2 separate regions of the Homo sapiens genome follow, and region 1 is linked to region 2. The links are contacts of gene promoters, found by promoter capture Hi-C in human tissues and cell types (Jung and others, 2019). All regions are on one chromosome and are shown on one strand. The core of a region is centred on a gene start or on the middle of the fragment in contact, and the rest is flanking DNA. Distances in the headings are between cores, read along the strand shown. Region 1 overlaps EXD2 (exonuclease 3'-5' domain containing 2). Region 2 holds the start of CCDC177 (coiled-coil domain containing 177).

Region 1 (6,366 bases), core at 548-3,047, 330 kb before region 2:
AATAAACTTCACATAAATTGCCTTAATTGTTTCTCATGACAACCCGACAAAGTAGGATTTAGATTTCTTACTGGTTAACTGCTACTATATCTTAAATTTAAAAAATCTTTCAGGGTTTTAAAAGAATTATAGAATTTTATCCCCATAACTATTTTGTGAGGTTGTAGAATAGATGTTGTTTTGTAAGTAGCTGGGATTACAAGTGTGTGCCACCACACACGGCTAATTTTTGTATTTTTAGTAGAGGCAGGGTTTCACCTCGTTGGTCAGGCTGGTCTCGAACTCCTGACCTCAAGTGATCCTCCTGCTTTGGCCTCCCAAAGTGCTGGGATTACAGGCATGAGCCACCACGCCCAGCTGCCAATATGTTTTCTAAAGCAGCTAAACCTCCCCTTTCGGCCACAGACTTTTCTAACAAATTCATCTTGCTGAATTGGGTAGATGAATGCTGGACTTGTGACTGAGAAGAACAGTTGTTTGGAGACAGGCAAGTTAGTGGGAAGCGCATGAGCTAAATATTAATAATAAAGTGTCTGCAGATACCCAGAGACGCCAACACTGCTGGGGTGGCGGGTGTCTTGGGAGGGAGGATTGAACATGGGGTATGGATGTAGGGAGAGGAGAGTGTGTGTGGGCAGGGTGCTTCCTTGAGGAAGGTCATCTTTATTCACAGGAGGTGAAAGCACCATTCACACAGCATCGGAGCAGTTTTTTAAGGACTCTGCTTAGTTAGGAAGGAGGGAGGCATTCATCTTCTCATTTAATGGCACCATTTGCACAACTGAGCAACCATGGAAGCATTTCACTGTGACCGAAACACTTCTCACCACTGTGGCTTGGCATCTTTTTGTGAGAAAAAAGGCTCTAAAGAAATATGCTACCTTGCATTTGACATTCAGTTATTAAATTGTGTTGTGAAAAAGTGTAACATGCGGGCCGATTTAACAGCCTCATATAAATACTGTGTCCCAGAATGAACAACTTAAAAGAGGGGTGAACTGGTCACTGGGTAATCCTGGAAGAAATGGAAGACCAGCATTCTTCATCCATTATCAGCTGGATGGTAGTGCCCCTCTCGTGGGAGCTGAACATTATGAAGTGGCCTTCCTGTCAGTAGAGCTCAGAACCCTCAAATACCTTCTGTTGGGATTGCGAGTCGTATGTTCAGACTATAAAAAGGGCAGAGATAAGAAAGAGGATGTTTCGAAAACACCAAAGTAACTAACCCTTTAGGAGTCCTTCAACCTCCCCAGTTACCCTTGGCGCGCAGCATTTGAAGCTGTCTGTGAGGCCATCCTGCGCTTGTTTCCCTCAGACACTTTGTTTTTCATGTTTTGGCAGAATCTCCAATGAAAACTATGTTCCTCACGGGCTGAAGGTGGTGCAGTGTCACAGCCAGGGTGGCCTGCGCTCCCTCATGCAGCTGGAGAGCCGCTGGCGTCAGCACTTCCTGGACTCCATGCAGCCCAAGCACCTGCCCCAGCAGTGGTCAGTGGACCACAACCATCAGAAGCTGCTCCGGAAATTCGGGGAAGATCTTCCCATCCAGCTGTCTTGATAGCTGCTTTCCTCCCAGTTAGGACAAGTGGGAAGCTGGAGCCAAGGTTGAAGAGTCACCTCTTCCCATTTTAGTACATCATTAATTGTCAAAGCCTGTGTGACACAACTCAGAATACTAACCTAGACTAATCCCAGGATGCTTCTGCTGGAGCAAAGATATTGTTTGAAGGAGAGTTTATGGTTTTGGATTTTAAACGGGCAGGGTCTTTTTTCCTCTCATTTTTGTGGACAAGAGAGGCCTTCGCCTTTATTTTTACTCTCCCTCTTCTGCTGTCCCTGTGCAGAGGAAAAATGAAGAATTCTCCCAGAAGTGACTTGTCAAGACTTAAAAAAAATGTTTTTAATGCATTTCTTCCTTGTCTAGTGCCTCGGTTTATCTCTAACAGGGGCTGTCCAGTATATCGGTCCTGTTAGGAGGGGAGAAAAAGTTCTTCCAAAGGCTGGAGAAGTGAACAAGGAGTCAAATTTATTTTCCCAATTCAACTTCATAATTATCATTTCTTTGGCTTCATGCTCTCCCGTAACTCATGTGGTTGGGATCCATCCCATCTGGGTCACTTCAGTCTACTTCACGTACTTGAAAAGGCTTTCCTTTACACTTCCAGGACCAAACAGCAACTTCCTGCCACACACTTCCACCCTATCACTGGGAGAAATCCTTTTCTGGACATGAGCCTTTGACCTGGGTGGGGCAGAAAGAACCACAAACTCCATCTCCCAATAGAACTTTGAAATTCACTCAGCTTTTCCTTTCATGCTGTTTGTTGCCTGCTTGTTGCACTCCTCCTGCCCCAGAACTGCAAGATTTTTAGCTTCACCCCTTTCTGAGAGTAATGTTATCTTTTATCAGAATCAGTATCAGTTCCCCTGTATTCTGTGCTTCATCGAATTTGCAAGACTGACCTCTTTTAAGCATTTAATTCACTCCCAGAGTCATCTGGTCAGGTTGCAATATGAGGACTTCTCTGTCTCCTCTGAAGCCTGGGACACTGAGCTTACTTAATACATTAGATGTTCAAAAGAGGAGCGTTGTTTCATCTTTCAAAATGTTAGGCCATTACTTTGAGTATAAAATCGACTTATTAATGATTAGTAATTTTTCTAAAGTATTGGGAAAACTTTCTTATTTTATAAGATCTTAACAAGCTTAAAAAAGAATTTTATGACCAGAATCCAACAAGAGCTCTATTTTGGAATTGTGCCCAAGTTGGTGATGTTTACTCTAAAATTAATAATAAAACTACTTGTAAGCACAAGGCTCACTGGATGTAAATGTAAAACTTCGCGACTTTATAAAACTGGCATTCCTAGGGGAGGGGCTATTTATCCTACAGGTCCCTGCCTCCTGGCAGTGCCATGGTATGTGTGCATGGATATACCAGACACAGTCACCATCGGCCATCAGTAGCAGCCCATGAACCCACGTGCACATCCTGCATCTTGCTCTTCTGACCCTTCATTCCCACTTGTCTTCAGGCAGGCATTTCTGGGATCTAAACTAGAAATCCTTGAAAACAAATAGTACCAGCCACTTTGAGGAATGTGCATTCACTGTAGTGGGTTATTATGGGGTCTCTGCCTCCTGGCTGTGTTATGCGGAGCCCAGGAGTGGAGGAGAGCCGTGGAAATAGACAGGGAGAGGCTGGTACTTGGGTTGTGGTAATAGTCAGGCTTGCCACAAGAGGGCACTCATAGATTTGTTTTTATATTCATTCTTGAGAAAAAAGCAACTGGTTACTGAACGTAACTCATGACTTATGTTTCAAATTTTGCATAGCTGATTTTAAGTCATTTTGATAGCTTTGCAAGAAAAATTTTTCCTTTGAAACAAGGGAGTAGGGCTGTTTCATTTTCTTTCCTTCTAATCCTCATGCCAAGAGGTGAGAAACACTTAAGGTCATTTAAGGTGCTAGGGAAAGGGTTTTCCCATGGAGCTTTCTGTGAGGCGCAGTAAAATAGAGCCAGCAGCAAAGTAGAGGAAAAAGCCAGACTGCGTCACACAAGATTTCTCATCCTTTTCAGGAGAGAGTCACTGTGTAGATTTGAATCTTTTTTCTTTGAGTCTGCTTTGAACTTTAGCAGGCTTTTCCTAAGACTGACAATTGTCGTCTTAAATCAGAGATTTGAGGGTAGACTTATTTTATGGCAAATGTCTATTTTTCTGATATAAAAGTAACAATGCTCATTACAGAAGAATCTAAACAAAGAATAAAAATTAGCCATCTTCTCTCCATCTAAAACAGAGCTAAACTTTGCTGATATGTTTATGAATTTCCTTTCAGTATTAAAAAGTGCATATAAGGTGTATATTTACACAAAATTGAAGGTCATACATAGATACAGGTTGGTATCCTAACTTTACCCTCTCACTGATTAACATGGTATCACGAGTAACTTCCTATGTTTTTAAATCTTTGAAAATAGATTTCTAGTGGTTCTACCTTATCCATCCCCACACTGTTGAAAATTTTGGTTGTTTCAGATACTTTTATTATCAATGATGATGTGATAAAGTTTCTTGTATATATCTCTTTGGCTCTATCTTTGGTAATTTCTTAAGAATGGAATCTTAGAATTGGACTGTGAAGAGGGGGATTCACATTGCTGGGGCTAAGTACAAATTGACATCACCTTTTAGGAATGAAATGCTTCTCTTTGACCCTTTAGCTCCAGTGTCCCAGCATAGTCACTGGGCTTCATAGGAGTAGCAGTGAGAGGACAGTGTCACAGCAAGGGCCTCTCTGCATGCTCCCTGATCATTGTGTTTGCAGGTTCAGCATTTCTTCTTGAGTCCTTCCCTTCTTCCAACCTTATTGCCTCATTTCCCCCTTGTAGTCAATGTTTTTTGGAAACACTGTTTATTTTAAAATAAAAATGTAAAAAAAAGGTAAAAAAATAAAATTTTAAATTTTAAAATATAGGCTGTAGGCAGATGTTTTTTCCCTGCTACACAAACAATTAGTGATTTGCCATCCCAAAGTGAATGAGGCACAATATTCAGGGATTTGTTACGGCTTACGCTTAAGAGCACAGCCATAAGTTACTTATTCTTATCCATGTCACGGATAGAGATCAGATGACAAAATGTGTTCTGTTGAAATAAAGCCATTTTAATCATGCATTTTAGACTCTTAAGAATCCAGCAGGCAGAAAGAGGTTTTGTTCACCTTCCTATTCGCCTATTAGTTTGGGGCCCTAACATTTGACTGTAAGTTAAGTTCTTAGTTTACCCTGCCTCTCAATTTTTCATTCATTTATTTATCCTTTCTTCCTTTTTTTCCCCTTCCTTATGTCTCAGCCTTATAAGAAGTATCATTTTTTCTTTTAAAGGAGATATTTTCTCAGTTTGCTAGTTTACTAATTATTATGTATTTTAAATGGATCTTTCTTTCTGGTCTTTTATGTTTCCTATTATAAGATGGTTATTTTTTGAGAGTACCTAATCCCCTTAGGGATACACTGAGAATCAGTTTCTGTTGGAAGAGATAAACTAAAAGAGGGTATAAGAATGATTCTTGTTTTGATTAACTGTTGATTGATATGAATAACATAAAAATAATACATAATCTCCCCAGTACTTTTTTTTTTTTTTTTTTTTTGACATGGTCTCACTCCAGACTGGAGTGCAGTGGTGCAGTCATGGCTCACTGCTGCTTCAACCTCCAGGGCTCAGGCAATCCTCCCATCTCAGCTTCCCAAGTAGCTGGGACTACAGCCTTGTGGCACCATGCCTGGCTAATTTTTTAATTTTTTTGTAGAGATAGAGTCATGCTTTGTTGCACAAGCTGGTCTCAAACTCCTGGCCTCAAGCCGTCCTCTCACCTTAGCTCCCAAAGTACTGGGATTACAGGTATGAGCCACTGTGCTCAGTCCCCCAAATACTTTTGTTTTGGAATTCAGGTATAATTTTCAGGCATTCACCAAGATACCCCTTGTGCAAGAGCCCAGCACCTTCTGCCTGTCCCAGTCCTGGAGTAGTTTTGCATCAGGCAATGGAGTAGGGATGACGTGCAGCCACACAGCCCATGTGTTCAAAAGTACCGATTCCACCAGCCTGCTAGGAGACGTATTAGTCACTCCCTTTGCTTGAGGAAGCAAGGCCTTGCTTAAATGCTAGCATGTTATTTAGAAAGGTGGGAAGTACATTAGACCATTTTTTTTTTAACCAGCTTTATCTGTGGCCAACTCTGGTTGAAGGCCCCTAGAAACTGGGTAACTGGACCAAATGGTTAATCATTTGAGAGATAATCAAGAACTGCCTTTGCAGAGGAACAGAGTTGTCAAAGGACCTAGTTCATGCATCCTGGGTTGTACCCCCTTCTGATGTGGTGCAGGCTGCCTCAAAGGTCATTTTGTGTTGTGACTGAATGGAGATAATGTCATACCCTCCAGACTGAACTCAAAGCATTTGCTTTTTGCTATTTGTTATTCTTGAATTTTTCTCTCTTGCTGGATGGGTAGCCTGTTGCCTTTCTCCCAGCATAAGCTTCAAAAGCTGCCGAGTTTACAGGCAGCATTATTATAAGCATGATGTTTGGGTTCAGAAAATTCCTGAGTTGAAATGGCTACTTAGAATCTGCTTCTGCTGCTGCTGCTTTTTTTTTTGTTTTTTTTTTTTTTTTGAGACAGAGTTTTGCTCATGTCATCCAGGCTGGAGTGCAGTGATGCAATCTTGGCTCCCTGCAAACTCTGCCTCCTGGATTTAAGCGAGTCTCCTGCTTCAGCCTCCCAAGTAGCTGGGGTTACAGGCGTGCACCACCGCACCTGGCTAATTCTTGTATTTTTAGTAGAGACGTGGTTTCACCA
Region 2 (6,993 bases), core at 391-2,890:
GTGGCCACCCGCATGGAGCGGCCCGGAGCCTCTCGCACCAGGTCGGCCAGGGCCCGTGGCAGCAGCTCCACCGGCTTGACCGCACAGCGGGCGCAGGCCTCTAGCGAGCGGGGGCTGGTCAGCACGTAGCGGCTGCCCTCCGCCTCTGGGCAGTCGAAGTTGAAGAGGTCGAGGTGCAGCAGCGGGGACTGCTCCCGCCGCCCGCCTTCTGCGGCTGCACATGGGACTTCTGCCTTGCGGGGCACCGCCGCGGAGGCCGAGGCCGAGGCCGAGGAAGCTGCGGGCTCCTGTGCGCCCTGGGAATCAGGGGGCACGGACGCCACGGCCTCGTCCCCTCCAGAGTCGCCGGGTTCCGCTCCTGCCTTCTCTTCTTCAGGCACTGGGTCCACCATGGCTGAGCCCCGTCCTTTGTTGGAATCTCTGCAGATCACAAGGAGGGACATCGAGGAATACGTCTGAGAGCTCTTCCCCCCTCCTCATCCATAGTCACCCCATCCCAACTTAATCCGCTTTCGGATTAGGCTCAGAGGCTTTGGTGGAACGTAAATCATAAAACCGATGTCGGAAAGCCCAGGCTGAGCGCCAGAACGGGGATGGGGGTGGGGCGGACACTCGTGTTCAGAGAGCAGCCTGGGTCTCCCTCAGCCCCGGAATGCGGGGTGGAGGCCTGTGGCGAGGCTCCTCTGGGCGCCTAGCCCGCTAGATGCATCCCCTTTCTGCTGCAAGTTAAGATGAAAAGATCCAGGTGCAGGCAGGAGCTAGAGAGGGAGGCGCTGGAGGATTCCCGGGAGGATTAGCGTATTTGTTTGTAGCTTAGGCGGGCTACTGGGGATGCAGCTTTGCAGGAACAAAAAAGCAAGAGGCCTGTTCATCCCAAGGGACCCCATTTGCCTAAGGGAAGAAGTTTATGGTTGATTTCCCCTGCCAAAGGAGACTCGGTCGCAAGGCCCCCGGGTGATTAAAGGGCTGGGAGAAGTCCCCAAAGGCCTCTCCGGGAGGGGTGATGGATTCTTGCTCCAGCAGCTCTGGCAGGGCTTACTGAGGGCTCTGCACGCCGCCTCCGCCCCCACCTCCACCCCCACCGGGTGTTTGCTGGGGATGGAGAAGGTGCCTGGATACTCTCAGACGCACCGGATCTCCTCCAAGTCTGAATGTGCTAAAGATACCATCCACCCCAGTCGGGGTTCAGATACCCGCCCTCGGGTGCCCTCCGAGTTCCCCCACAGCATCCCAGTGGGTGGGCTCCTGGAGTGCAAAGAACCTGGCCGCCCAGGTTCCCGCAGCTCCCGGTACCCGAGCCGGTTTACTCACCCCGCGTCCTGGGCTTCGGCCCCGCGCCAAGGGCTTTTGTTCGCAGCTCGCCGCTGTCCCCTGCGCTTCTTCAGTCTCTGCGCCGGCGGGGTCGGGTTACTGCCGGCTGCAACCGTGAAAGGAGCCCCATCTGCCGCCGCCAGCGTCTCTCCATGGGGTCTGCGAACAGGGCGCACGCACCCCAGATGCTACCTACACGTGGGAGGGGGAGTGCGACAATGTCTCCCTAAAATAACGCGGCTCTGCACCCTTCCCTCACATTGATTCTTTAAAAAAGAAGCCCGGTTCCGTCGCTGCGGCATCCCTCTACACCTCTACAACCGTGGAGGTACCGCAGGTCCCACGCTGCCCCCTGCGCCTCCTGGCGGACACTCGAGGGTGCTGGTTTGTTTGCTTCGAGGACGAAGGAGAAATTTTTGTTTAAATGTATATATGTACATATATACACACATATAATATGTATATATATACACTACACACATACAGGTAGATGTAGGTATAGATATGGATAGATATCGATATATAAATCACCAAGAAACCCTAGTCTTTCAGCAGCCTAACTGGGTAGAATGAAGGAATTGCTCAGCTTGTTTCTAAAGGAAACCCTGAGGAGCAAACAAACTTGATAGCGAATAATTGGGTGGAAATATGGCGCCTGATGCAAATTGTGATTTTTTTTTTTTCAATGAAAAACTAAAAACAGGCTGGGCAAGGTGGCTTACACCTGTAATCCCAGCACTTCGGGAGGTCGAGGCCAGTGGATTACTTGAGTCCAGGAATTTGAGACCAGCCTGGACAACATAGCGAGTCCCCATCTCTAAAAAAATTTTCAAGAATTAGCTGGGGTGGTGTCCTGTGCCTGTAGTCCCAGCTACTCCAGAGGCTGAAGTGGGAGGATCACCTGAGCCCAGGAGGTTGAGGCTGCGGTGAACCATGACTGCACCACCGCACTGCAGCCTGGGTGACAGAGTGAGACCCTGTCTCAAACAAAATAAAACAAAATAAAAACAAACAAAAACTAAGAACACTTATGGGTTTGACGCAGGTGGAACATATGTAACTGGTGTTTAATGCAACATTTTATGACTTCCTGGTTATAGATAATAACAATTATAACCAGTTAGTGCCATACAATGAGTGTTATTTTGAGACATCTCCTGCCCACCTCTTTTCCATTTTGAGTGATAGTGGCCGTAGGAGACAGACCGGAGGAGTGCTTGATGGAGGGAAGTCGAGGAGAGGATGGGACATAACATTAGAGGGAATATTGAACTATGCATTAAATAACCTTGGCTGGGTGTGGTGGCACACACCTGTAATCCGAGCACTTTGGGAGGGCGAGGCGGATGGATCACTTGAGATCAGGAATTCGAGACCAGCCTGGCCAACATGGTGAAACTCCGTCTCTACTGAAAATACAAAAATTAGCCGGGTGTGGTGGCATGCAGCTGTAATCCCAGCTACTCAGGAGGCTGAGGCAGGAGAATCGCTTGAACCTGGGAGGCAGAGGTTGCAGTGAGCCGAGATCTCACCACTGCACCCCAGCCTGATGACAGAGCGAGACTCCATCTCAAGAAAAAAAAATTAAATTTTAAAAAATAACCTTGACATTGTCAGGTAGACTGTGAGGAGAAAGTGAAGGGTTTTAAGTGGGGAAATGACATGATTTGGTTTTTATTTTAGGAACATAACTCTGGCAACAGTGAAGTGGAGGCTTTACAAAGGCCAGGGCCAAGAGGAGGCAGGAAGCCCAGTTAGCTGGACACTGTGGTCACCCCAGGCAGGAAGGATTGGGGCCAGAGAGGAACAGTGGCAGGAGGAATACAGCACATAGTGATGGGGAGGGCCAGGGAAGGATGGTTTCCTTTTCGGACCTCTTGATTGAGGTGGAGCTGCTCAGCAGGTGGCTGATAAGTTGTGTCAGAGATCTGGACTGGAGCTAGAATTAGGACATCGTGACCCTATACCTGGTTCCTAAAACCAACAGTGTGAGTGAGATCACTCAGGGAGGGCAGGTGGAGCAATGAGAGAGGCTGGCAGGGCATGGATAGGGCTGCTAAGGGAAAAGGAGTGCACGAAGGGGACCAACAAGGAGTGCAACAAGGACAGACAGCAAAGTGTGGTCTTGTGTGAGCTACCAGTGGGGCACTGCAGAAGGAGAGTGTGCCCCTTGTGTTAAGGGCTGCAGAGGTCCAGGAGGTTTCACCTGGAGTCAAATACCCACTGAAACTGGCAGTTATGAGTCTTGGGTGACATTGGCAAAAACAGCTTAGTATTGCACTAGGGCAGATGCCAAGTGCAGGAAGCTGAGGTGCAATGGGAGGTGAGAATTACTGATGCTTTTGACATTCAGGTAGTAGTTTTAAGAACACGAAGCCTTTGGAATTTTACCCTACTTACATACTAACAGGTGAGCCTGCCACTGTTCTGTATATGCTGGCAGAAGACAGGAGACTCCAGGGTCAGAAACCACTGACTTTGTTACTCATGGCACAGCAGGCAGCATGAGATCATGCTTTTGTTGGCTCCCCTTGCTCCATGTGTCCCATGGGTCATAGACAGGTAGTGAATTAGGTAGAGATTAGTAAACCCTAAACTTCTCAACAGGGCTACTAGCAAACCTGCTCAACCATTGCCCCAGTGACAGCATTATCTTTATTATCCTGGACTGCAAACAAATCTCCCTGCTTCCCTGGAGGGAGATTCTATCTCTATCATCCTTGAAAAACAGTCCAGCTGGGCATGGTGGCTCCTACCTGCAATCTGGCACTTTGGGAGGCCAAGGCGGGAGGATTGGCTGAGCCCAAGAGTTTGAGACCAGCCTGGGCAACATAGTGAGACCTTGTCTTTACAAAAATTAATAAAATTAGCCAGGCGTGGTGGTGCACACCTGTAGTCCCAGATACTCTGGAGGCTGAGGTAGGAGGATTGCTTGAGCCTGGGTGTTGGACACTGCAGTAAACTGTGATTGTGCCACTGCACTCCAGCCTCTCACTCTAGGGAACAAAGTGAGACTCTGTCAAGAAAGGAAGGATGGCTGGGTGCAGTGGCTCACGTCTGTAATCTCAGCACTTTGGGAGGCCGAGTTGGATGGATTACTTGAGCCCTGGAGTTCGAGACCAGCCTGGCCAACATGGTGAAATCCCGTCTCTATTTAAAATACAAAAATTTGCTGGGCATTGTGGCAGACACCTGTAATCCCAGCTACTCGGGAGGCTGAGGCAGGAAAGTTGCTTCAACCTGGGAGGTGGAAGTTGCAGTGAACCGAGATCACGCCGCTGAACTCCAGCCTGAGTGACAGAGTAAGACTCCATCAAAAAAAAAAAAAAAAAAAAAAAAAAAGGAAGGAAGGAATAATCCTCTTTACAAGATATGTAGAAATTGGCTGGGCACGGTGGCTCACACCTGTAATCCCAGCATTTTGGGAGGCCGAGGTGGGTGGATCATTTGAAGTCAGGAGTTGGAGACCAGCCTGGCCAACATAGTGAAACCCCATCTCTACTAAAAATACAAAAATTAGCCGGGTATGGTGGCAGGCACCTGTAATCCCAGCTACTTGGGAGGCTGAGGCAGGAGAATTGCTTGAACCTGGGAGGCGGAGGTTGCAGTGAGCTGAGATGGCGCCACTGCACTACAGCCTGGATGACAGAGTGAGACTCCGTTTCGGGGGGAAAAAAAAAAGACATGTAGAAATGACATTAAAAATTGCTCTGAATAGAGAAAAGCAGTTGGTCACAAAGCTAGTACAGGTGGGGCTGGGATTTGGACCTGGCTCTGTCTGATTCTGAAGTGGATCACATGCATTGTATTAATATTTCCACACCAAACTGAGTGTCTGTAGACATGTAGATTCAGATGGAGATGAGTAGGGTGGGCAAGTTGGCCTCTCCAAACCTCATTTTCCCCCCTTGCATAGAATCTTATTAAATTGCCTCCCTCAATGGCTAATCATGGCTGTGGAAAAACTATGTAGATGTTAACTTTATCCTTCAGTTTTCACATTTGTTAAATAGGGACAATAATGCCTACCTTCCAAGAGTGTTAGCAGAACTGGAACAGCTATATGCAAAGTACCTAGACCAGCACATTGTCAGTAAGCAGTGATACAATGGTTACCATTTCTTTCTTTCTTTTTTTTTTTTGAGATGGAGTCTCACACTCTGTCACCCAGGCTGGAGTACAGTGGTGCGATCTTGGCTCACTGCAACCTCCACCTCCCGGGTTCAAGCAATTCTTCTGCCTCAGCATCCTGAGTAGCTGGGACTAGAAGCGCACACCACCACGCCTGGCTAAGTTTTGTATGTTTGGTAGAGATGGGGTTTCACCATGTTGGCCAGGATGGTCTCGATCTCCTGACCTCGTGATCCACACGCCTCAGCCTCCCAAAGTGCTGGGATTGCAGGAGTGAGCCACTGCGCCCGGCTGGTTACCATTTATTTTGATAAACCTTATCTTACAGACATGGTGAGAATCAACATCTGCAGTATTTGCAAGTTCTTAAGGGGAAGCCCGACAAATGTTCTACCTTTGATTAAAGAATGATTCTGCATCTGGGAAGGTCATGCAAGGAGAGGGCAGGAGAAGGGGGCCTTGAAATAGGACACCAACATATCCAGCCACTTTGCTGGAACTGACTTGGTAGTCAATGCGGTGCCATCGAATTGTCAGGTATCTCCCACTTCTCATCTTTAAGTGCCTTGGACATTTCAGGAGATGGATTTCACTTCAGGTTGGGAGCTCTAGACTGCTGTAATTTAAGAGTGTTAAATCCAATTTTATTATAGTACCCAGTAAAGACAGCAGCCCAATTTGGGAACACTCACCTGCTTCTTATGAGTGGGGATAGTGGATATGATGGTAAAAAATGTGGGCTTGGGAGGCAAAAAGATGGGGCTGGGTGCAGTCACTGGCACCTGTAATCCCAACACTGTGGGAGTCTGAGGTGAGAGGATCACTTGAGCCCAGAAGTTTGAGATTGTGGTGAGCTAGGATTGCAACCACTGCACTCTAGCCTGGGCGACAGAGTGAGATCCTGTCTCATTAAAAGAAAAAAAAAAAGGCAGATGGGTAGTTCTAATTTCAGCTCCTCCAGGCTGTGTGATTTTAGGCAAGTTTCTTAACCTCTCTGAGCCTCAACTTCGTCTTTCAAAAAGGAAGGCACAATATGGACTGTTATTTTGCCTTACACAGACCCTTACAGATAATAACAATTAGGTACACCATTAGGTCCTTTAATATTACTAGCTCACTAATCTAGACAAATACAGTGTAGACATTATCATCTCCATTTAAATTCCTTTTGCACAGCCCCCACCACCCACTTCAGCTCAGTGTACTCACGCTCATCCATTCTCCTTCCTCTCAGTAGAGTCGAATTTGCAGAACAGAGGTTTTTTCACTCTAAAGTTCTACATCAGGAGTTGATAAACTATGATCTGTGGGCCAGATCCACTGCTTGGTTTTTGTAAATCAAGTTTTACTGGAACACAGTCATGCTTATTTGTTTGTATAGTATCTGTACTGCTTTTGCACCACAATGGCTGACTTGAGTAGTTTGGACAGACACTGTCTGACTCAACAAAGCTTGACGTATTTACTATCGGGCTCTGTGCAGAAACACTTTGCCAACCCCTGTCCTAATGACTGATAACAGCTTGGGCCAGTCATCAATGTATTGCCTCA

What was found. Contacts are between HindIII fragments. The study calls those that stand out against the background at their distance.
Region 1: a contact is called between a fragment that was not itself captured here and the fragment with the promoter of CCDC177 in region 2, in 1 of the 25 tissues and cell types used here (lymphoblastoid cells).

The regions. Positions count from the first base shown.
Region 1 is chr14:69,239,543-69,245,908 of GRCh38, forward strand. EXD2 (exonuclease 3'-5' domain containing 2) reads left to right here. Exons shown (of 10, transcript NM_001193360.2): 10 at 1,342-4,476. The coding sequence ends at 1,558. All of the region lies in intron 2 of GALNT16-AS1 (GALNT16 and EXD2 antisense RNA 1), which reads right to left. Among named protein-coding and RNA genes, the nearest start is that of GALNT16, 17 kb to the right of the region's middle. The HindIII fragment of the contact is 5,157 bases long and covers 1-4,376 here.
Region 2 is chr14:69,573,231-69,580,223 of GRCh38, forward strand. CCDC177 (coiled-coil domain containing 177) reads right to left here and starts at 1,641. Exons shown (of 2, transcript NM_001271507.2): 1 at 1,312-1,641; 2 at 1-420. The coding sequence starts at 392. The HindIII fragment of the contact is 5,538 bases long and covers 1-3,255 here.